Linked DNA regions of Homo sapiens: regions 2, 3, 4, 5 and 6 are each linked to region 1. The links are contacts of gene promoters, found by promoter capture Hi-C in blood cells and fetal thymus (Javierre and others, 2016). All regions are on one chromosome and are shown on one strand. Each heading gives the region's core, a stretch centred on a gene start or on the middle of the fragment in contact. The rest is flanking DNA. Distances are from core to core; before and after follow the strand shown. Region 1 holds the start of FAM227B (family with sequence similarity 227 member B). Region 2 overlaps USP8 (ubiquitin specific peptidase 8). Region 3 holds the start of MIR4712 (microRNA 4712). Region 4 overlaps GABPB1 (GA binding protein transcription factor subunit beta 1). Region 5 overlaps GABPB1 (GA binding protein transcription factor subunit beta 1). Region 6 has its middle 27 kb from the start of ATP8B4.

What was found. The method cuts DNA at HindIII sites, captures the fragments that hold promoters and counts their contacts. A CHiCAGO score of 5 or more calls a contact.
Region 2: a contact is called between a fragment that was not itself captured here and the fragment with the promoter of FAM227B in region 1, in 2 of 17 cell types (naive CD8 T cells and naive CD4 T cells). The highest score is 6.2, in naive CD8 T cells.
Region 3: a fragment that was not itself captured here is called in contact with the fragment with the promoter of FAM227B in region 1 in 4 of 17 cell types (naive CD4 T cells, naive CD8 T cells, total CD8 T cells and 1 more); the score reaches 9.4 in naive CD4 T cells.
Region 4: a fragment that was not itself captured here is called in contact with the fragment with the promoter of FAM227B in region 1 in 1 of 17 cell types (naive CD8 T cells); the score reaches 5.2 in naive CD8 T cells.
Region 5: a fragment that was not itself captured here is called in contact with the fragment with the promoter of FAM227B in region 1 in 7 of 17 cell types (megakaryocytes, M2 macrophages, naive B cells and 4 more); the score reaches 9.5 in megakaryocytes.
Region 6: a contact is called between a fragment that was not itself captured here and the fragment with the promoter of FAM227B in region 1, in 1 of 17 cell types (neutrophils). The highest score is 5.5, in neutrophils.

Annotation. Positions count from the first base shown.
Region 1 is chr15:49,618,817-49,622,321 of GRCh38, forward strand. FAM227B (family with sequence similarity 227 member B) reads right to left here and starts at 2,002. Exons shown (of 16, transcript NM_152647.3): 1 at 1,884-2,002. DTWD1 (DTW motif tRNA-uridine aminocarboxypropyltransferase 1) reads left to right here and starts at 2,232. Exons shown (of 5, transcript NM_001144955.2): 1 at 2,232-2,306. RefSeq lists an enhancer at 2,344-2,463. The HindIII fragment of the contact is 6,893 bases long and covers 1-3,186 here.
Region 2 is chr15:50,425,631-50,429,135 of GRCh38, forward strand. All of the region lies in intron 1 of USP8 (ubiquitin specific peptidase 8), which reads left to right. Among named protein-coding and RNA genes, the nearest start is that of USP8, 3.0 kb to the left of the region's middle. The HindIII fragment of the contact is 4,576 bases long and covers 1-3,505 here.
Region 3 is chr15:50,357,639-50,361,143 of GRCh38, forward strand. It overlaps GABPB1-AS1 (GABPB1 antisense RNA 1), which reads left to right. Exons shown (of 1, transcript NR_024490.1): 1 at 1-674. It overlaps MIR4712 (microRNA 4712), which reads left to right and starts at 2,691; the gene lies at 2,691-2,772. The HindIII fragment of the contact is 6,184 bases long and covers 1-3,505 here.
Region 4 is chr15:50,330,289-50,333,793 of GRCh38, forward strand. All of the region lies in intron 1 of GABPB1 (GA binding protein transcription factor subunit beta 1), which reads right to left. Among named protein-coding and RNA genes, the nearest start is that of GABPB1-AS1, 22 kb to the right of the region's middle. The HindIII fragment of the contact is 5,779 bases long and covers 1-3,505 here.
Region 5 is chr15:50,310,774-50,314,278 of GRCh38, forward strand. All of the region lies in intron 1 of GABPB1 (GA binding protein transcription factor subunit beta 1), which reads right to left. Among named protein-coding and RNA genes, the nearest start is that of GABPB1-AS1, 42 kb to the right of the region's middle. The HindIII fragment of the contact is 6,518 bases long and covers 1-3,505 here.
Region 6 is chr15:50,144,724-50,148,228 of GRCh38, forward strand. It overlaps a transcript of ATP8B4 not described here. Among named protein-coding and RNA genes, the nearest start is that of ATP8B4, 27 kb to the left of the region's middle. The HindIII fragment of the contact is 5,521 bases long and covers 1-3,505 here.

The sequences.
Region 1 (3,505 bases), core at 752-3,251:
CCTTTGGTGAGAAGAATTGAGAATAGAGTAGAAGGGTTGGGTACTACAGGGTTTTCTTTAACCTAGAATGTGGCAAACTGTTAGTGCTCACCAATATGTGTGTGTTTCTCTACATTTCTCAGGATCCCCGGCAGTTAAAGTGGGGGCCTTGGGACTAAATTCTGGCCAACAGAATGTGGCCAAATTGATACATGTCATTTTTAGAGTTAACCTTGGGTAATTTGCCATACTTTCTTTCTTGTCAAACAAGCTAGTCCTAGAAGGCAGCAGAACCATTAAAAATAAAAACATCTGGCCTTGAATTTAACATTTCGTCTGCCTAGAAATAGCCACAATGGATCTTTTGTGAGGAAAAAAAAAAGTGTATTAAACCACCGATATTTTGGGGTTTTCTGTTACAGAAGTAAATTCACTATGCTGGTTTTAAAACATGGACAAGAAATCTTTGCCAATCCTTTGAGAAGAGGGATCTATGTCTCCTTTCCTAAAATGGAACAGGACTTTGACACATTTGTAAGCAAAAGAAAGTGGGGGAAGTAGCACCGCGTTACTTTTTGAGGCAAGGTCAGAAAAGGTCAGGCAATTTTTGCCTTGTTCATTGCAACACTCCCTTTGGAGCTCTGAGTTTAAGCTAAGAAGTCTGACTACCTTGCTGCCATACTGTGAGGAAACCCCGGCCATATAGTTACAGAAGCTCTGCTAGCATGCCCACTCTAGTCTTTCTAATTGAGTTACCAAAGAAAAGCTGATGACTATGCCCTATTGACAACACCACCTGTGAACATAATAAAATGGTTGTTTTAAGCCACCATATTTTGGAGTAATTTATTACATACGATAGCAACCCAATGCTCAATCTAACAAGTAGTATTATTTGCTTTTTAATCTGTGCAATTTAACTACTTTGATAAAATTTAGAGTTAAACTAAAAAGGAAAATGGTTGTGAATTCTTCTTGGCTTATAGACTTTGCTATTCTACTTTCCCTACCCAGAAAATTCACCTTTCTCCCTAAATCACTGGCTTTCAAACTTTTTAAGGTTTGAAATACAGTAAGAAATACATTTTACAAACAAGCCCTAGTGCACACATACACGCATATATACAATTAAAAGCTCCATAAAGCAGTACTTTACTAACTAACACTAAATTTACTTACATGCGCTGATATTTCCAATCTATATTGTTTCTTTTTTTTAAGTTTAAAGAGATTTCCTTGCTTACAAATGGGTCAAGACCTCCACTAATGGGTCCCACACAATCCCCTTTCCAGTTGAAAAACACTGTCCTAAACCTAAATCATTCTTCAAGGCCTTACCCAAGTCCGAAAAAGAAGCCTTTATTGACCACTCCATTCTCAGCTTTCTTGAAATTCCTGTAATTTATTAAATTCCATTTTTTATCTCAGTAGTAAGAATATTGCATTTTCTGTACTTGAATTTAACATGCTTTACTTGATATCGTGAGCACTTCTAGGGCATTGTAATGTCCTTTATCTACCACTTGATAAATTCAGAGTAGTCAATAAAACATTGCTCAACATTTGACCATTGTGTTTTAAAATCTTAGTTGTTAGAGTGCACTTCCGTTTGCGCATTGTTTGGGGAGAGGCACGGACAAATGTTCTAATAACTTATCCACATATTATACTTCAAAGTGGAAAAACACAAAGTACTCTTAACTCTATATGCGTGTTTTTATGCAAACTAAATCATTAAGATACAAATGATTTTTCTAATAGCTTTCATTACCACACAGCACACGAAATAATGATATTGATATAGCCACGAAAGACTAATGTAACCAAGTTCTCACAATCAAAATATCTTTGAGGTGGGCAAAATGCAAACTTTTCTCTGGGATCAACATTTCTTCACAACTCACTGCAACTACGCCTTGACAGTATGTTTCGAGAACCGCTTCCCAATTTTGTTGTCCCAGCAAGAATCGGGAGGAAACTGGGTGAAAGGCTGCGAGGCTTGAGGCGGGTCCCGGACGAACGCGGCCCTGCCCCTCGCCGGAGCCTCTCGGGAGAAGTGCGACACCGCCGCTGATTGAGAGGCTGAGGCGGAACTTCCCGTCTAACCCCCCCCCCGCTGTCGTCCCAGCCTGTTGCTTAAGCCGCGCGGTGTGCGGTGTGCGCGGCCCCTGCCTTAGCAACGACGCTAGTAACTGCCTGGCTCCTCCCTCTGGTGTCTCCCGGAAAGCGCTCCGTCTGGTCCGTGCGCGATCACGGCCCGGCGCGTGGCTCGGGCTCGGGCGGAGCTGGAGACGTGTGGAGCTGTTCGAGGACTCGCGGGTGTGCAGGTCTGAGTACCACTCCGATCCCTGGTGGAGGTCCCCGCGCCTCTCTGGAGACCAGTGGTCTGGCCCCAGAGGTGCGGCCGCGGGAAGTGGACATTCTTTGTCAGGACCCTAGCGGAGGTCGCGCTGGGTGTCGCCTGTGAGGGGGATCCTCGGTTTCTGCGCGGTCTCTTGCTTTTTTTAGGATCTTGCGGGCCCTTTGGGAAAAAGGTTTCCAAATTTTTCCTCAAAAAAAAAATTATTTTTCCTACCAATGATTTTCGGTGCATTCCGCCCCAACGAAAAGTATGTCCTGGCAAAGTCAGTTCCCTAGGAACCCCATACTTTATTTTATTTTATTTTTAGTATTTGGAGTGGTTTGTGGGGGTTTGGTTATCACGGAAGGGGAAGCGTAGTACAGACGTAGAATTAGTGATGCCATGCAGTGTATTTAAAATATTGAGGTTGTGGTTACATAATAAGCAAAAGAGCCTGTTTCTTACGTCTAAATTATTTATTGGGAATGTAGGACAAATAAGGAAGTATATTAACATTTTCAGTCGCCAGGCCCACAAAGTTGGATGGTAAAATCAATACTGTAGATCGCAGCATGTAAGGACTAACCCAGTGCACCATGAAAACGAAGGCAAGACAGTTTGTTACCATATGGCGGGTGGTGTGGGAGAGGCCATTGATCCTATATGAAAAAGGGTACTACTACCTTGGATTATGAAAAATGAATGTTGGACCTGTAGGTCCTATGTGACCAAGTTCTTAAAAACACTCTAAAGAAAATTGGAAGTGGTTTTTTTCTAATACTGAATTGGTCCACAATATAGGACAGGGGAGTCTGTATAGTGTTCCATTGGGAGGTGAGTCAGCTTACAATAATGGAAGAGGTAGAAGCTTTTTGTTATTATTTTGGAGAAAAAAAAATTGCCAGCCTGCCACTTGTGCTAGGCTGCAGACGGCCCATAAAGGTAGTTTGTCAGATACTTCAGTAGTGAGATGCTTACTGGATGTGTTTTGCAGAATGGTTTTGATTTAGTTAACAAGTGTTTGTTGAGTTCCTGCTGTTGCATAAGAATCAGGAATAGGTGAGATCAGGGAAGGAATCTGCTCTTACAGAGTTGAATGCTGGAGGGGATAGATTCACTAAAGTACCTCCACAATAAATGCATTTTTCCATGTCAAATATGTGGAACTAATAATAAGTACTCAAA
Region 2 (3,505 bases), core at 362-2,861, 810 kb after region 1:
TTAATATTAGTGAAGACCCTGTAGTAGTTTAAAAAAAAAATACACCTCTCATTAATGAAATTTTGCACATAGACATCTGTTTTTTTAAGAAAACAATGTATAAGAAAAACTAACAAAAATGTTTTAAAGGTGCCTTTTTTAGCATTTCGTTTTTTAATATATTTACTTGGACTTTAATCTTTATGGGCATTTGTTTATTAATGTGGACGTGGCTGGGCGCAGTGGCTCACATCTGTAATCCTAGCACTTTGGGAGGCGGAGGTGGGCGGATCACTGAGGTCAGGAGTTCGAGATCAGCCTGGCCAACATGGCGAAACCCGGTCTCTACTAAAAATACAAAATTAGCTGGGCGTGGTGGTGCACGCCTGTAGTCCCAGCTACTCTGGAGGCTGAGGCAGGAGAATCGCTTGAACCTGGAAAGCGAAGGTTGCAGTGAGCCGAGATTGCGTCATTGCACTCCAGCCTGGGTGACAAGAGCAAAACTCCGTCTCAAAAAATAAAAAATAAAAAGCGTGGACATAATGGAAAATAATCAAAATGACTTTTGGGTAAGACAGTTGGAAAATAAAGCCAGTACATTAAATTTTTTTCATAAGTCTAGCACTATATTACGAACTTTTCTCCATGAAAATGCACTCATATTTATGGAAGTGAAAGGAAAAAAATGTCTTCAGGTATGTGTTGCTAATAAAATTAGATATAATTAAGGAAACATTTAAAAAATACCTTGTTGTTGTCCCAGTTACCTATTGCTGCATAACAAATCACTCCAAAACATAGTGACTTAAAACTGTAATTTAGTATCTCTCCTGTTTCTCTGGCCTGCCTGGACTTAGCTAAGTGGTTTTCACCTAGAGTTTAATGCGTTTGTATTCAGATAAGCAGCTGAGTTTGGAGTCAACCGAGAGCTCAGCTGGTCTGGACATCCAAAATGGCTAATTCACGTGAAGGCGTTTGATGTTGGCTAGGAGTTCAGCTGGAAATGTCAACTGGAATGCCCACACATAGCCTCTTCACGTGACTTGAACAGTATGGCGGCTAGGTTCCGAGAATACATGTTTGAGGAGTCAGGAAGTAGAAGCTGCCAGTCTCCCAAAAAGCCTGAGCCCAGAAATTCGCACAACATTACTTCCAACATACTCTGTTGGTTAGAGCAAAGACCAGCGTACAACCCTCACCTTTGAAAGGAAAAATGTCAAAGAATTTGTGGCCGTGCTTTGCCTACTATAATTTTGATGACAAAGTTGTATTGGACTCTTGTTTGCATTTATATAGCAGATGAAGAATCAGGTACACTTCCAATTTCCAGTTTCTTTCTTTCTTCTTCTTCTTTTTTTTTTTTTGAGATGGAGTCTTGCTCTGTTGTCAGCCTGGAGTGCAGTGTACGATCTCAGCTCACTGCAACCTCTGCCTCCTGGGTTCACGCCATTCTCCTGCCTCAGCCTCCCGAGTAGCATGTCACCAAGCCCAGCTAATTTTTGTATTTTTAGTAGAGATGGGGTTTCACCATGTTGGCCAGGATGATCTTGATCTCTTGACCTGTGATCCACCTGCCTCAACCTCCGAAAGTGCTGGAATTACAGGCGTGAGCCACCGCGCCTGACCCATTTCCAATTTCTTTAACCGTAATACTTTATGTTGTAATGGCATATTACAGTTTTCAAAGCATGTTTTTGTATATTTTTTCACTTGATACCTATGGTCACCCTATAGAAGCAGACAAATAGTTCCTATTTCATTTTGCAGATGAAAGTAAACTGAAGAGTGGTGGTGGTATTGGGAGTGATTTACGGAATTTGTTCAAAGTCATATGATTAATAAATGGAAAGTAAGGCCTGCAACAGTTCCATAATATTAAATTTATTAGTACTGAATGATGAAATATTATATTAAACTTATTTGGAATTCTACATTTATAGCCGTACTAATTTTTTTTTTTTTTTTTTTTTTGAGACGGAGTCTTGCTCTGTCTTCTAGGCTGGAGTGCAGTGGTGAGTTCTCGGCTCACTGAAATGTCCGCCTCCTGGGTTTAAGCAATTCTGCTTCAGCCTCCCGAGTAGCTGGGACTATAGGCACCTGCCACCATGCCCGGCTAATTTTTGTATTTTAGTAGAGATGGGGTTTTGCCATGTTGGCCAGGCTGGTCTTGAACTCCTGACCTCAGGTGATCTGCCCGCCTCAGCCTCCCAAAGTGCTGGGATTATAGCCGTGAGCCACCATACCTGGCCCTTTTTTTTTTTAAACTGAGACAAGGTCTTGCTCTGTCACCCAGGCTGGAGTGCAGTGGCATGACCTTGGCTCACTGTAACCTCTGCTTCCTGGGCTCAAGTGATCCTCCTGCCTCAGCCTCCCAAGTAGCTAGGACTGCAGGCACACGCCAGCACACCTGACTAATACCATACTAATTCAAGTAAAACAGTTCTCATGTATAGTGAATAAGGGTTAACTAAGCCTTGTCTCTTTTGACTAACACATTACAATTTAGTTTTTTGTTTGTTTGTTTTTGAGAGGGAGTCTTGCTCTGTCACCTAGGCTGGATGCAGTGGCATGATCTCGGCTCACTGCACCCTCCGTCTGATGGGTTCAAGCAATTCTCCTGCCTCAGCCTCCCAAGTAGCTGGGATCACAGGCATATGCCGCCACGCCCAGCTAATTTTTTGTGTTTTAGTAGAGATGGGGTTTCACTGTGTTGCCCAGGCTGGTCACGAACTCCTGAGCTCAGGCAATCCACCTGCCTCGGCCTCCCAAAGTGCTGGGATTACAGGCGTTAGCTACCACGCCGGGCCTACAATTTAGTTTTTAATAATGCAGCAGTCTTCCTCTTATCTGCAGGGGATATGTTTCAAGACCTCCAATGAATGCCTGAAACCACAGATAGTACTGAACCCTATATATACTATGTTTTCCCTATATATACATTTTTATGATAAAGTTTAACTTATAAATTAGTAACAAGAGATTAACAACAATAACTAATAATAAAATAGAATAATTACAACAATATAGTGTAATAAAAGTTATGCCCTGTGGCCATAACTTGTGCAACTTGAGGTGTGACAGCAAAACTAGCACAAATTTCTTTTTCCTTCATAATTTTGCAGATAAAAGATCTTACCATAGATCTTAGCAACCTCAGCATGAGGTTTTTGGTTTTTTTTCTTATTAGGTTGAGAACTTTCACCTTTTTGCTTAAAGGAAGCAGTTTACAACTTCTTTTTGACATACGTGAATCTCTGCTTTTACACTTTGAAGCCATGATTAAGTAAAATGAGGGTTACTTGAACACAAGCACTGTAATACTGCTATAGTCAGTCTGGTAACTGAGACGGCCACTTAGTGATTAACAGGCAGGTAGCATCTACAGTGTGGATACACTGGACAAAGGGATGATTCATGTCACAGACTGGGCGAAGTGAGGTGGTGCACAATTTAAAACTTATGAATTGTTTATTTCTGGAATTTTTTATTTAATATTCTTGGACTGTGGTTGACTGCAAGTAGCTGA
Region 3 (3,505 bases), core at 416-2,915, 740 kb after region 1:
AGATTGCGCCACTGCACTCCAGCCTGGGCGACTGAACGAGACTCCGCCTCAAAAAAAAAGAGTTTGTGAGGAAAATTAAAAGCTGATTGGATAAAGTGTTACTCTGGGGAAAAGAGAGCAAACTTTTGGTGGTTGGTTGATCAGAGATGGCCTCACTGAGAAGGTATTAGAAAGGACAAGAACAGTGTGAGACCAAAGGGAATAGCTGGGCAAAGGCCCTAAGGTGAAAAATTTGTTGTGTTTAGGGAATAGCAAGGTCAGTGTATCCGAAATCTAGTGACCAAAAGAAGGAATGATAGGAGGTGAAGTCTTCAGCCTCAATAAGAAGGTGAAGTGCACTGGAAGCCATTGAAGGATTTAAGAAATGGAGTATCTGGCCGGGCGCGGTGGCTCACGCCTGTAATCCCAGCACTTTGGGAGGCCGAGGTGGGAGGATCAAGAGGTCAGGAGATGGAGACCATCCTGGCTAACATGGTGAAACCCCGTCTCTATTCAAAATAAAAAATTTTTTTAAAAATTAGCCAGGCGTGGTGGCGGGCGCCTGTAGTCCCAGCTACTCGGGAGGCTGAGGCAGGATAATGGCGTGAACCCAGGAGGCAGGGCTTGCAGTGAGCCGAGATCGTGCCACTGCACTCCAGCCTGGGCGACAGAGCGAGACTCCGTCTCAAAAAAAAAAAAAAAAAAAAAAGAAATGGAGTATCATGGACTAGGATAGTAGCAGTAGAGATGAGGGAAGTGGATGGATCCAAAAAGCTGACCTATCTTGCTTACCAATTAAATGAGGAAAGGGAGGAATCAATAGTGATGCCTAGGTTTGGGGCATGTTGTCTAGGTGGAATTAATTTTAATTACACTTTTAACCCCTAGCATATCCAAATATTATTTCACATGTGATCAACATAAAAAATTACTAAATATTAAAAATATTTTACATTATCTTTCTCATAACTAAGCATTTGAAATCTGGTGTGTATTTTATACTTATAGCATATCTCAGTACTTGATTTCATAAAATTTCCAGCTGAAAAAATAGATTCACGTACCCAAGTCGTTCCAAGCATACTTAAAAGTTTTACGGTAATCGAATCGTGTATATTTTTAAATTTTATTTTAAATTAAAGTTAGGATTATGAATTCAGTTCCTAAATTAGCCTCATTTCACTTCTGCATTTCAAGTGGGACAAGTTATTACCATATTGGACAATGCAGTCTAGTGAAGTAGAGGATAGTGGAAAGTCAGACTTAAAAAGTTGTTTAGAACCAGCTCTGGAAGGCCTTGGATGTCAGATTAAAGGACTGAGATTTTACCCTTGAGTCAGGCAGAATAATGGATGGTTTTTGAACTAAGGAGTGACACAAGGTTGTGCTTATGACTAGAAGGAGGCCACTAGGTGGCCAGCTGGTGAGTCAGGACACCCTTCAGTTGCTTTGACTTCAGCCCTGTGGATTCAAAGTCTGATTTTTGTCAGCGCTCTAGAGCAGTCTCACCAAAAGTGTGGTCCACAAGGCAGTGCCAGTCTGTAAGCCCTTTGTTACACATCCATGTCAAGGCATTTACAGAAAGTAAGAATTTAGAAACTTATAGCAGTTTAACAGACTAATTTTATTTCTGTGGGTCTAATAAAAATTTGAGGGATTGTACTTTGCATATTCTTTATTTCCCTTTTTTTGTTTGTTTTTTGTGTTCGAGATGGGAGTCTTTTTCTGTCGCCAGGCTGGAGTGCAGTGGTGCAGTCTCGGCTCACTGCAACCTCTGCCTCCTGGGTTCAAGCGATTCTCCTGCCTCAGCCTCCCAAATAGCTGGGATTACAGGTGTGCACCACCACATCCAGCTAATTTTTGTATTTTCAGTAGAGACGGGGTTTCACCATGTTGGCCAGGATGGTCTTCATTGCCTGACCTTGTGATCCGCCTGCCTCAGCCTCCCAAAGTGCTGGGATTACAGGCGTAAGCCACCGTGCCCGGCCCTTTTTTCCTTTTTAGTTTATTTTTTTCTTTTTTGAGACAGAGTTTCGCTCTTATTGCCCAGGCTGGAGTGCAATGGTGCGATCTTGGCTCACCGCAACCTCTGCCTCCTGAGTTGAAGCGATACTCCTACCTCAGCCTCCCAAGTAGCTGGGATTACAAGCATGCACCACCATACCCTGCTAATTTTGTATTTTTAGTAGAGACGGGTTTCTCCATGTTGGTCAGGCTGGTCTCGAACTCCCAACCTCAGGTGATCTACCTGCCTTGGCCTCCCAAAGCGCTGGGATTACAGGTGTGAGCCACTGCACCCGGCCGTTTTTTTCTTTTTCTAATAATTTTTATCATATTACATAAAAGTACCTATGGTCTCACAGATGAAGGGAGTCAGAAGAACCAAACTCCCAGAAGACATATAAATCTAAATGCCTTTTTTACTTTAGAGTGAAAACTGTAATAGCTAAATTATAATGGACATCTGCTCATTTTCTCCCTCCATGTAGACATGGAAAGCTACACGGAAATAACCGAGTTTATAGTAGCTACCATATATTAAACGTTTCCTGTATGCCAGCCACTGTGCAAAGCATATTATATATATTGTCTCATTTAATCCTCACAACTCTGTAAAATAAGTATTGTTTGCCCCATTTTTCCAATGAAGAAACCGAGGCTAAAATAGGTTGAATAACTTACCTAAATTCACCATCCTCAAAGGTGTTAAAGACAGGATTCCAGTACAGGTCTCTCATTTCCTTCATGATTAGGAATACTACTTTGAAATGAGAGACCTGTACTGTATCTGTTAATTCCAAATTCCCTGGCATAAAGACTCAGTACATTGTTTAAAGAGAATGCATGAAGTTAACTGCATTACCTTTTGGAGGGTTCATTTGTGAATTTGGGGCCAAAGTAAGGGGAGTTACTGGTATTCTAATAGCATCAAACAAATGAATTCATTTCATCTTTTGGGGAGGTGGAGGGAATAAGGTCTCACCTTGTCGCCCATGCAGGCTGGAAGGCCGTGATGTGATCTCAGCTCACTGCAGCCTCAACCTGGGCTCAAGCGATCCTCCCACCTCAGCCTCCTGAGTAGCTGGGACTACAGGTGCACACCACCACGCCCAGCTCATTTTTGTATGTTTTGTAGAGACTGTGTTTTGCCACGTTGCCCAGGCTATTCTCAAACTCCTGAGCTCAAGTGATCCTCCCACCTCAGCCTCCCAAAGTGCTGGGATTACAGATGTAATCCACCACACCCAGCCAAATGCATTCATGTCTACAATAGAAATACATCTCTTTGCTGCTATCTTGAATTTGTAGACTCCCACAAATCAATAAAAAAGAAGACATCCAATAAAAAAATGGGTAGAGGCCAGGCAGTGGCTAACACCTGTAATCCAAGCACTTTAGGAGGCCCAGGCAGGCAGATCACTTGAGGTCAGAAGTTCAAGACCAGCCTGGCCAACATGACAAAACCCTGTCTCTACTAAAAATATAAAAATTAGCCAGACGTAGTGGCACGTACCTGTAATCACAA
Region 4 (3,505 bases), core at 428-2,927, 710 kb after region 1:
TGGAAAATACTGCATAGAGATTTTTCTCATTCTGTTTTACAGCTGCATAGTACTCGGCTATGTGAAAATACCATTGTATACTTTTAATTAAAAAAAAACTAGTTATCTCTTACTCTAGCAATCACAAGATCTCACCTTGCAATTTGAGTCCCTCTATCAACTGCCTCACACATTTACTTCATCCATTTTTCTCTGAATATAGGGCCCTGACAGTCATCCGATTTTAAACAATTCTCCTTCCTCATCTCATACACACTTACCTTATTCCAGACCCAATTCTCCTTCCTCATCCCATACACACTTACCTTATTCCAGACCCAATGTCTCCCCTCATGCTATTTTCCCAGTTTAGAATGGTTACATCCTTTCTCTCCAAATGCTATACTTCAATCAAAGCCCATTTTTAAAAGATCTTTTCTCCAACAAAACTTTCTAAGATGAGCTCTTAAATTTCCTCAGCAATATATAGCATAATCTCTATGTTTCTCTTCATTCAACAAACAAATGTTTACTGAGTAAATGAAGAGCAAAGAGCTTATGTTCTGGGATAAGAACTTCACAATAAAGAAGTAAATAAGTAGTAGTAGTAGTGGTGGTTGTGGCAGTGATAAACGGTATGAAGAAAAAGTAAGGCAGAGTAAGAAACAGAGTACTAGATTAGGGATAGGGAATTGCCATTTTGGAGAAAGTGATTACAAAAGGCCTCTCTGAGGAGGTGACAACTGAGTAGAAACAGGAATGAAAGGGAAAGCAAACCTAGGGAGGATCCAAAGGAAGCATCATGATGCACAAGTCATTCTCTTGGTTGCTTAGCATCAAAACACCTTCTTGTCCTTGGGGAATTCCCTTCCATATGCATCTTGAAAGAAGGCAGAAACCTCTGCCTACTACTGAATATTTGCTTTCCTTGCTTCCCATAAGGCAAGGGTACAGTCATATGACCTCCACTCCACAAGAGAAGCATCTGTGCTGGACCTTAATGTAGAAGATAGTGCATTTAAAAAGCCGAGAGTGTGTAGAACCCTTAGTGGCAAACGTGGCAGCAGATTCCAATAACAGTAGTGGTAGCAGCTTCCTCCTGTGATAAATTCCTTTTCTGTTAAATTAACCAGAGATTATTTGACTACTTAGAACTAAGAATTCTGGCTGACCCTGGTGATCCAGGGAAATGGAACAGCATATGTTAAGCGCCCTGAGCTACAGTGAAGAAGTATAACAGGAAATGCAATCATAGAAATACAAATGGGCTGGATCACATAGAACCTTATAGGCACTAGAAAGAGTGAATTTTATTGAGATTACTAGCAAGTTGTCAGAAAGTTTTAAACAGGAGAGTGTTGTGATGTGATTTACATTGTTAAGAGGCTACTCCTGTTATCATTTGGTTAATACATAGTGGAAAGCAAGAACTGAAACAAGCGTACTAGTTAGAAAATTATTCCAGGCAAGAGCTGCTGGCACCTCAGGCCTGGATGATACCTGTGTGGTTATTAGACAATTTACCTTTAATTGCTATATATTTAAGTTAAATCTAACATCATATTTTATGCTTTCCATTTGTCCCGTTCAGTTTTTTTTTTTGTTTTTTGTTTTTTGTTTTTTTTGAAATAGAGTCTCGCTCTGTCGCCCAGGCTGGAGTGCAGTTGCATGATCTCTGCTCACTGCAACCTCCACCTCCTGGGTTCAAGCGATTCTCCCGTCTCAGTCTCCCAAGTAGCTGGGATTACAGGCATGCACCATCACACTCTGCTGATTTTTGTATTTTTAGTAGAGACGGGGTTTCACCATGTTGATCATGCTGGTCTCGAACTCCTGACCTCAAGCAATCCACCTGCCTCGGCCTCCCAAAGTGCTGAGATTATAGGTATGAGCCACCGTGCCCAGCCCCCTGTCCAGTTTCTTTTCTCTCCTTTGTTGTTGCTGCCTTCTTTCCCCTCAATTCTTTTTAGCATTCTATTTATTTCCTCTACTGATTTGGAAGTTATACCCTCTGTTTCTGTTCTTTTGTTGGTTTTCTAGAAATTATACCATGCAGTAAAGTCTAATCAAAATCTTTATTCTCTCTTTTCCCAAAAAATCTATAGATTTTAAAAGACATAAGCAACACATCAACAAAATGCAATATGTAGACCCTGTTTGGATTCCAGTTTGAAGAAACCAAATATAATTTTTTAAATCTTTTTTTAGATAATTGGGAAAATGTGAATACTAACTACATAATGCTAAGAAATTATTGATTTTTTTCTGTATATGATACTGGTATTATACTTTAAGCCCATATCTTTTATAAGAACAATATATTTATGGGTTAAATAATGTGATTGTTAGGACTTACTTTAAAATACTTGGGATATATATAAAAACACTTTAGTCATGAATTCATAACTGTTGAAGGTGGGTAATAAATACATAAGGATTCATTATACTCTTCTCTTTTACATATTTAAAATTTTCCATAAGAGGTTTTTTTTAAATTACTATCCTTCTAGGTAAGACAAGGACCTTAAATCCTAGACTCTACCTATCCTACTTGTTATACCCTTGTTTTTAATCCATTAGACATTTTTACTATGTTTAATGCAATCCATATTCATTTTCATTCTCTAAATATGTATCATTTTCTTTACCTTTAATTTACTCTTCATACATTTCATTTTGTGATTTGAGATCAATTTCATCCTGTCCTAAGTATATCCTTTAAAAACATACTGTCCAATATGGTGCATGTGGATATTTAATAAAAATTAAGTTTATTGGCTTAATAACTTATTAATAACTTAATAACTTATTAAGCCAATAAACTTAAAAATTCAGTTTATTGAATTTTCAAGTACTCAATAGCCCTATGTAGCTTATGACTACAATATTGGACAGCACAGAAAAAGAACATTTCCAGGCCAAACATGGTGGCTCACACCTACAATCCCAGCAGTCTGTAGGACTGAGGTGGGAGAATCACTTGAGCACAGGAGTTTGAGCCTGAGCAACACAGCGAGACCTCGTCTCTACAAATAATTTTAAAAATTAGACAGGTCGAGGTTGTGTGCATCTGTGGTCCCAGGTACTCAGGAGGCTGAGGTGGGAGGATTGCCTGAGTGATCACATTATCATTATATTATCACATTACTTCATCCATAAATATATTATTTTTAGCTCAGTGAGCCATGATTGCACCACACTCCAGCCTGGGTGACAGAGTGAGACCTGTCTCAAGAAAAAAATAAATAACATTCCCAATTCCACAGAAACTTCCATTGAACACTGCTGCTTTAAATGATCTTTCATAGGTGAGATGTTCGTGACAAGTTGTTTTTATCTGAAAATATCCTTATTTTACCATCATTCTTTAAATATATTTTCACTGGGCATAAAATTCTAGATTGACAGGTAGTTTTCATTCCATATAGTAGACATTTCACTGTCTGCTGATTTCCACTGTTGCTGCTGAAAAGTCATCTAGCCAGGCGTGGTGGCTCACGCCTGTAATGCCAACACTTTGGGAGGC
Region 5 (3,505 bases), core at 1,006-3,505, 690 kb after region 1:
TCGAGACCAGCCTGGACAACATGGTGAAACCCTATCTCTACTAAAAATAAAAAATTGGCTGGGCATGGGGGCTCACACCTAGGGTCCCAGCTACTCAGGAGGCTGAGGCACAAGAATCACTTGAACCCAGGAGGCGGAGGTTGCAGTGAGCCGAGATCATGCCACTGCACTCTAGCCTGGGCAACAAAGTAAACTCTGTCTCAAAAAAAAAAAAAAAAACCAGGAAAGAATATCTTGTGCCTTGAATTTAATATATCTGAAAAGGCTAATGTCCCAGCCTGGGATGTGAGGTGTGCATGGGTGTGTATGTATTTGTGTCTTCTTGAATAAGAAATATTGAAATATATGTCAGAAAAAAGATTATGACAGTAGAATATAGGTAAATTAAGATTTGAATGTATCACAAACATTCAAATTCAAGGGATGACAGTTCTGAGAAGAAAGTTTCCAAACCCAGAAAGACTATCCAGCTGGAAGATTACTCAATTATGTCATACAGTATCCTAAGTAAGGAAAAGCAGAATTTTAGGCCCATGGGGAAGGGAATATATGGAATCCCTGAGATTTACAATGAAAAAATGTGCCTGGGGTATAAATTTATCTCAAAAAAAGTATATACTCTGAGGGTTAGGTAAGTAGTCAAGAGAAAATAAATTATAAAGAGAGTAATGGCAGGTTGATTAGTGTATCTCTACCTGGTATGAACAACTATTACAGGTTGAGTATCCCTAATCCAAAAATCTGAAATCTGAAACTTTTTAAGCATCAAAGGAAATACTCATTAGAGCATTTCAGATTTTGCATTTTTGCATTAGGGATGCTGAACCAGTAAGTATTAATGCAAATATTCCAAAATCTGAAAAAACCCAAAATCGGAAACATTATGGACCTAAGTATTTCAGATAAGGGATACTCAACTTGCACTCAATAAGGAAGAGAAAGGAGCGTATGTGTGAGAAGGAAGTTGGCAAATGGGGCTTGAAAAAGTTATTTCTGCCAGAAAGAAACAAAATGTTCTACATCATTAAAAGGGATAAGAAATCTAAAAGGGGTAATTATAAGAAAAGCTGTCCATGAAAATAAACAGAATTATGCCTATAATTTTTAGTAGATTAGCTACGATGGGAATAACCAAGCACAGAAGAGGTAACCAGGGACAGATACTAATACTTGGAGGCTTGCACAATAATTAGGTGAGATATACATATCCCAAACAGGCCTTCGTCACAAGGCAAGAAAGAATTTCTTAGAATTGTTTCATTTGTAAGGATAAAAATAATCTATATTATGGCAAGGCGCAGCAGCTTACACCTGTAATCCCACCACTCTGGGAGGCCGAGGTGGGTGAATCACTTGAGGTCAGGTGTTCGAGACCAGCCCGGCCAACAGGGTGAAACCCTGTCTCTACTAAAAATTCAATCCAGCCTGGGCAAGAGTGAGACTCCATCTCAAAAAAAAAAAATAATCTATATTATATCCTGTAGTAAAGAATAGGAAAAACAACCACATGTACTTGTGGGATTTATATGGGTTTTTTAAATACACTTCTCTGTGACACTCGCAACATTTTCATCCTTGAATTTCTGATTTCCTTTCCTTTTTTTCTCCTATTCTCTCATACCTTGATGGAGTCACTGAAAGCCAAGATACTCCTCAATCCTGCTTAAAGACGCTAAGATCTATAGAGATTACTGATCTCCAATGAGGCATTTTTTCCTAGATAATATGTAACTGCTGGACAGTAAAAATTAACATCATATTCAACAGGGAAGAAACCTGCAAAAATAATTTCCTATTAAAGGCAGGATAAAGCAAAAAGAAACCGACCTCTCTCCTACAGAAGTACGGTAAAATCTAAACTGGTCACACTAACAAATACAGCATTTATACTCTGAATGATATAAATTTGGCTTTACGATGAAATTTATCTTTCCAAAAATCTACATTTTTAAATAGGTTTTACACAGGTAATATAAAATCAGTTTGCATTCATTCAGCATACATACTGCCAAATGGTTTAGATATCTGAGTATCTTTTGTGAAGTGAGAGTTTAGGGCTTTTCCCCACCTTTTGAAACTGGGTTGTCTGTCTTTTTTTTATTGATTTGTAAGCGTTCTGACATATGTTCTGGATATGAGTCCTTTGTCAAATATAACAAGTATTATAAATATCTCTGTCCAGAACCCTGAATTTTGACTGTCTTATGTTCTTTCTTTGATAACACATAGTATTTTCTATGGGTAGATAACTGTTGAGTCTCATAAAAATGTGCAACTTCTACATATTAAAATAATCAAAATAAGAAATGGCAAAGAAATATATTTACCACAAAAATGACTAGAAGAAACATTCATGTTTTACTTATTTAAAAGGTCTGACTCAAAATGAAAAGGTGGGGGAAAAGTAAACAGCAAGGACCCAACACATCAATAGTTAAAAGACAGGACCATATGTTTTACAGAAAAGAAAATAGAAATAATTCACAAGGGCAAAAAATGCTCAGTGTCACTGTTAATCAGGTTAACATAAAGTAAATAATTTTAAAGTAATTCCTGATGCAGCCAAGAATTAAGTGAAACTGATGCTTTGATATATTGACAACTCAGATATGCTGATAGTAATATAAGTGGATCAGCTTTATTTTTTAGTCAACTGGGCAAATTTAACAAGTTACAAAAATATCCAAGTCCATTGACCCAATAAGTGATCCCACTTCTAAGAATCTATTCTAAAGGAAAAATATATTGAAACAGATTTATCAGTAAAGATTATATATGCATACACATATATATTATATATAACTCTTCTAATGTGACCAATCTAAAGGTAAGAAAATGATTGAATTGTAGAATCTAAAGGAAAAAAATGCAGTAATTTAACCTAATAGTTTTGAAGCTATATAAACAACAAAAAATTTATGCCACATTATGAAAAGATATAAATCTTTTTAACGTCAAAATATGCATATAAAGTATAAAATACTGAAAAATATTAACAATTGTTTAGGATGGTATGATTATGGGAAATTTTGTCATTTTACAAAGTTTCTAATGTTACTATATTACCTAATTTAAAAAATTTTTTTTCAAAGGGACAAATTACATTGTATGACTGTCAACTAAGCAAATGATAACATTAAGGAAAGTTTTATGTTCCTGACTTACTAGAGAGGATGAGCGGAAAAAACAAAGAAAATGTATAATGTTGGGAACTTAAAATATCAATCATAGATCTGCTTACATGAATTATAATAAAATCATGAAGCATTTGAACAAATCGACTTTTACCATAATTATTCAATTGTCTTAATTATTCAAAACATATCACAGTTTAGGACCTAATATACTTAAGTTACTCTGGTTTTAAAATTCCATGAGCAATACAGCCATACGGTAGATTTATTTATTTATTTATTTATTTATTTTTTGAGACGGAGTCTCGCTCTGTTGCCCAGGCTGGAGTGCAGTGGCGTGATCTCGGCTCACTGCAAGCTCCACCTCCCAG
Region 6 (3,505 bases), core at 304-2,803, 530 kb after region 1:
GAGATGACATCATTTGCAATTACCCTTGTTTTTTTTTTTACATCTTTCTTCCTATCCACAGGGCCTACCTTTCCCTAACTATCAACTCATATCTATGATTTCCTTCAGCACCTTTTTCAAAGTTCACTTACTCCTGGAAGCCGTCACGGACTACTCTCAGCTGATCAGATCACTCCTGCCCTCTACACTTATGGAAGCAGTTGCTTCCATATCATATTACACTACTGAATATCGTAGAAAATATTTCGTTCTTAAAGCCTAGCTGAGCCATGAAAAGCAGTGACTGATATTAAATAGAACTTTTTGCAAGATCTATTGAGTTAACCAGGGGTATGGTATTACCTCTACAATCCCAGCTATATGTACCACATCCTAATCTGAGTTAAAATGAACCTTGATATTTAGTTTACTTTTTGGCTTTGACTACTTTTTACTTGTTTTAAAAATCAGGATAAAACAAAATTGAACAAAAAATAAAGAGGTAAAGTGCATTCAATAAAGAGATTTTAATTAACACTGGGCATAAAAATACATTTTACTGAATCTTAAGGGTTTTTTAACATTTGCTGTTTATAGTATCTTGTCTGATTTGAGAGGCTATCAAATCACAGATCAGTCATACATTGATTCAGGATCAGTCTCTTTCTTTTTTCAGTATATTACATTACTGAGGGATAAACTGGATTTAGAGTTAATTTTAAAAGTTAAATTGGTATTACCTGAAAAATGAATCCATTTAAAATATTTCTGCATTGGGTGGGAGTCTGTCCTAAACACACTCCACAGCTCATCATTCCATGTAGGTGCGTCACCCTATCCCAGAACACAAAGGAAACTTATTCTTGGAGTGTTACTGCCATCTAGTGGAAATTTTACTAAATGTGAATAAATTCTTAAGGCTAATTAGGCCCCCTACTCTCTTCACCGCCACTCTCACCATGTCTTTTTTTCTTTTTCCTTCCTTTCTTTCTTTCTTTCTTACTATCACAGGTGCACTCAGGTACACCAAGAAGAGAAAATGCTTGCTCAGTCATTGGGAACTTTTTTGAAAATTGGTGCTTTGTGCCCAGCAAGACAATATTTCTATTTGGCCAAAGCTACTTTGTCAGAAGATATATGAATATGTCCTAATTTTTGCAAAAAAAGAAATGCAGAAAGGATTAACCAGAAACTAATGGGATTGATTACCTAAAGCAAAAGGATGAAAATGAATGAGAAAGATGGAAAAAGATAGAACTCTTCTGATTATATTTTTATATAGTTTTTACTCTTGAACCACATAAATGTTTACTTTTTTTTTTTTTTTTGAGACGGAGTCTCACTCTGTTGCCCAGGCTGGAGTGCAGGAGCGCGATCTCGGGTCACTGCAACCTCTGCCCTCTGAGTTCAAGTGGTTCACCTACCTCAGCATCCCGAGTAGCTGGGATTACAGGCGTCTGCCACCGTGCCCAGCTAATTTTTTGTGTTTTTAGTAGAGACGGGGTTTCACCATCTTGGCCAGGCTGGTCTTGAACTCTGACCTCGTGATTCACCTGCCTTGGCCTCCCAAAGTGCCGGGATTACAGGCATGAGCCACCACGCCCGGCCTACATTTTCAAATATAAAATTTAGTCACCAGGCTGGGAGGACTGTTAAGTTGAACAGAAACAGAAACAAATCAACCTAAGCATGTATCATATAAAAAATGTAATTATTCAGAACAAGAAAAATAATTATTCCAAGTAACTTGTGAATGTGAAATTCTAACTGGCCACCCTCAGGGAATATTCTAAGGATAATAATTAAGAAAGCCTTGAACTTTACCTGGTAAGGTAAGTTTGTCTTTGGTAGTGGTATTGATGTAGTAATTCTGAAACTACTTTGCGTGTGTTTTAGAATTTCAAATAGATAAACATATTGATCTTGCTGGTGTTGCAGGACTTTTCCTTAGTTCAGCTAAAGACAGGGTCCTTTTCCGTCCCATGGTCACCAACATTTAGGCTCATAGATGGTTTGAAGCGTGAGTAAAGCAGGGTTGTATTGGGTAAAAGGGAAAAAAGGGGAAACAGGGATCCTCCTAAGGCCAGAGTCCCTGCTAGAGAACTTCCCACCCACAAGTTCCACACAGGAAGAGGAGGAGCCTTGAATCCCAGGTTCCACACAGGAAGAGGAACCCTTCTGCAAATGTTGTGAACTTCTGTGTCTCCACCCCAGTGTGCACTCTTCCCAGTGCACAAGCCAGTTGGAGTTTTTCCAGGGATCCTCTTCCCACTTGGCTGTCTCACTGGGAACCAGTTTTCCCATTATGGGAGGGTTGTTTTTTGTTTTTTAAAAGAGATATGGAGTAAAGGAAGAAGACGCAAACTCTTTGGTGTTGGGTTACGAAGTTAGAGGTATCAGTACAAATTCGAGGTCTTTAAAACTATGTATTAGCCAGGCACGGTGGCTCACGCCTGTAATCCCAGCACTTGGGGAGGTCAAGGTGGGCAGATCACCTGAGGTCAGGAGTTCAAGACCAGCCTGGGCAACATGGTAAAACCCTGCCTCTACTACAATTACAAGAATTAGTCGGGTGTGGTGCTGCATGCCTGTAATCCCAGCTACTCAGGAGGCTGAGGCATGAGAATCGCTTGAACTGGGGAGGCGGAGGTTGCAGTGAACAGAGATCACACCACTGCACTCCATCCTGGGTGACAGAGAGAAAGAGACACTGTCTCCAAAAAAAAAAAAAAAAAAAAAGTATATACTTCCTATTTTGTCCATTGAAAGAGCCTAGAAGCAATAACCCTCCTGCAGAAGGAGTATACCTGCACCCTGGCTTCCATGTCTAAACACCATAGTCAAAAGACAAAAGCAGGATCCCACGGAGAAATGGTTGATTCCAGGGCTGGGTCAAGGGAAGCACAAGGTGATCCTGGAACATCTTTTGTTTCAGAACATCAGAACATGCTCAAAAGCTGATCGGGACCTGCCAAAAGACACAGGAGCCAACCAAGATCAATGACACAAAAGAATATATAACATTGAATTTTTTGAAAATTGCTGAGTCTATACCCAACCTTTAAAGGAGGAAAAAAAGAAAAAGAAAAGATGCCAATGAATGCATGTGGAAGGAATGATAGAAACAGAAAATCACCCTCTCAGAACCACCATAGAAATAATAGATTCAGGCAAGGATCATCAAAGAGTGCCAAAATCATTCAGTGGGAAATTGGGGCGTAAAAGAATATTTATACAATCTAAAAGTATAACTCCATGCAATACATATTAATTACAAAGAAGAACTATATCTTTCCAATGCATCTAGCAGTTAGCATTTCTACTAAGTGATCCAACTTAATACGAGCAATAATGGGACAATCAGGCAGCAGATGCCTCCTGGTCTGACACACTGAGAAGGACAGAACACCACTTCTTTAGTGTTCCTGCCAAACTGCAAAACCTGAATCTAATCATGAGGAAACATCACATAAACCCAAGTTAAAGAACATTCAACAAAATACTGGCCTGGACTCCAAAAATGTTA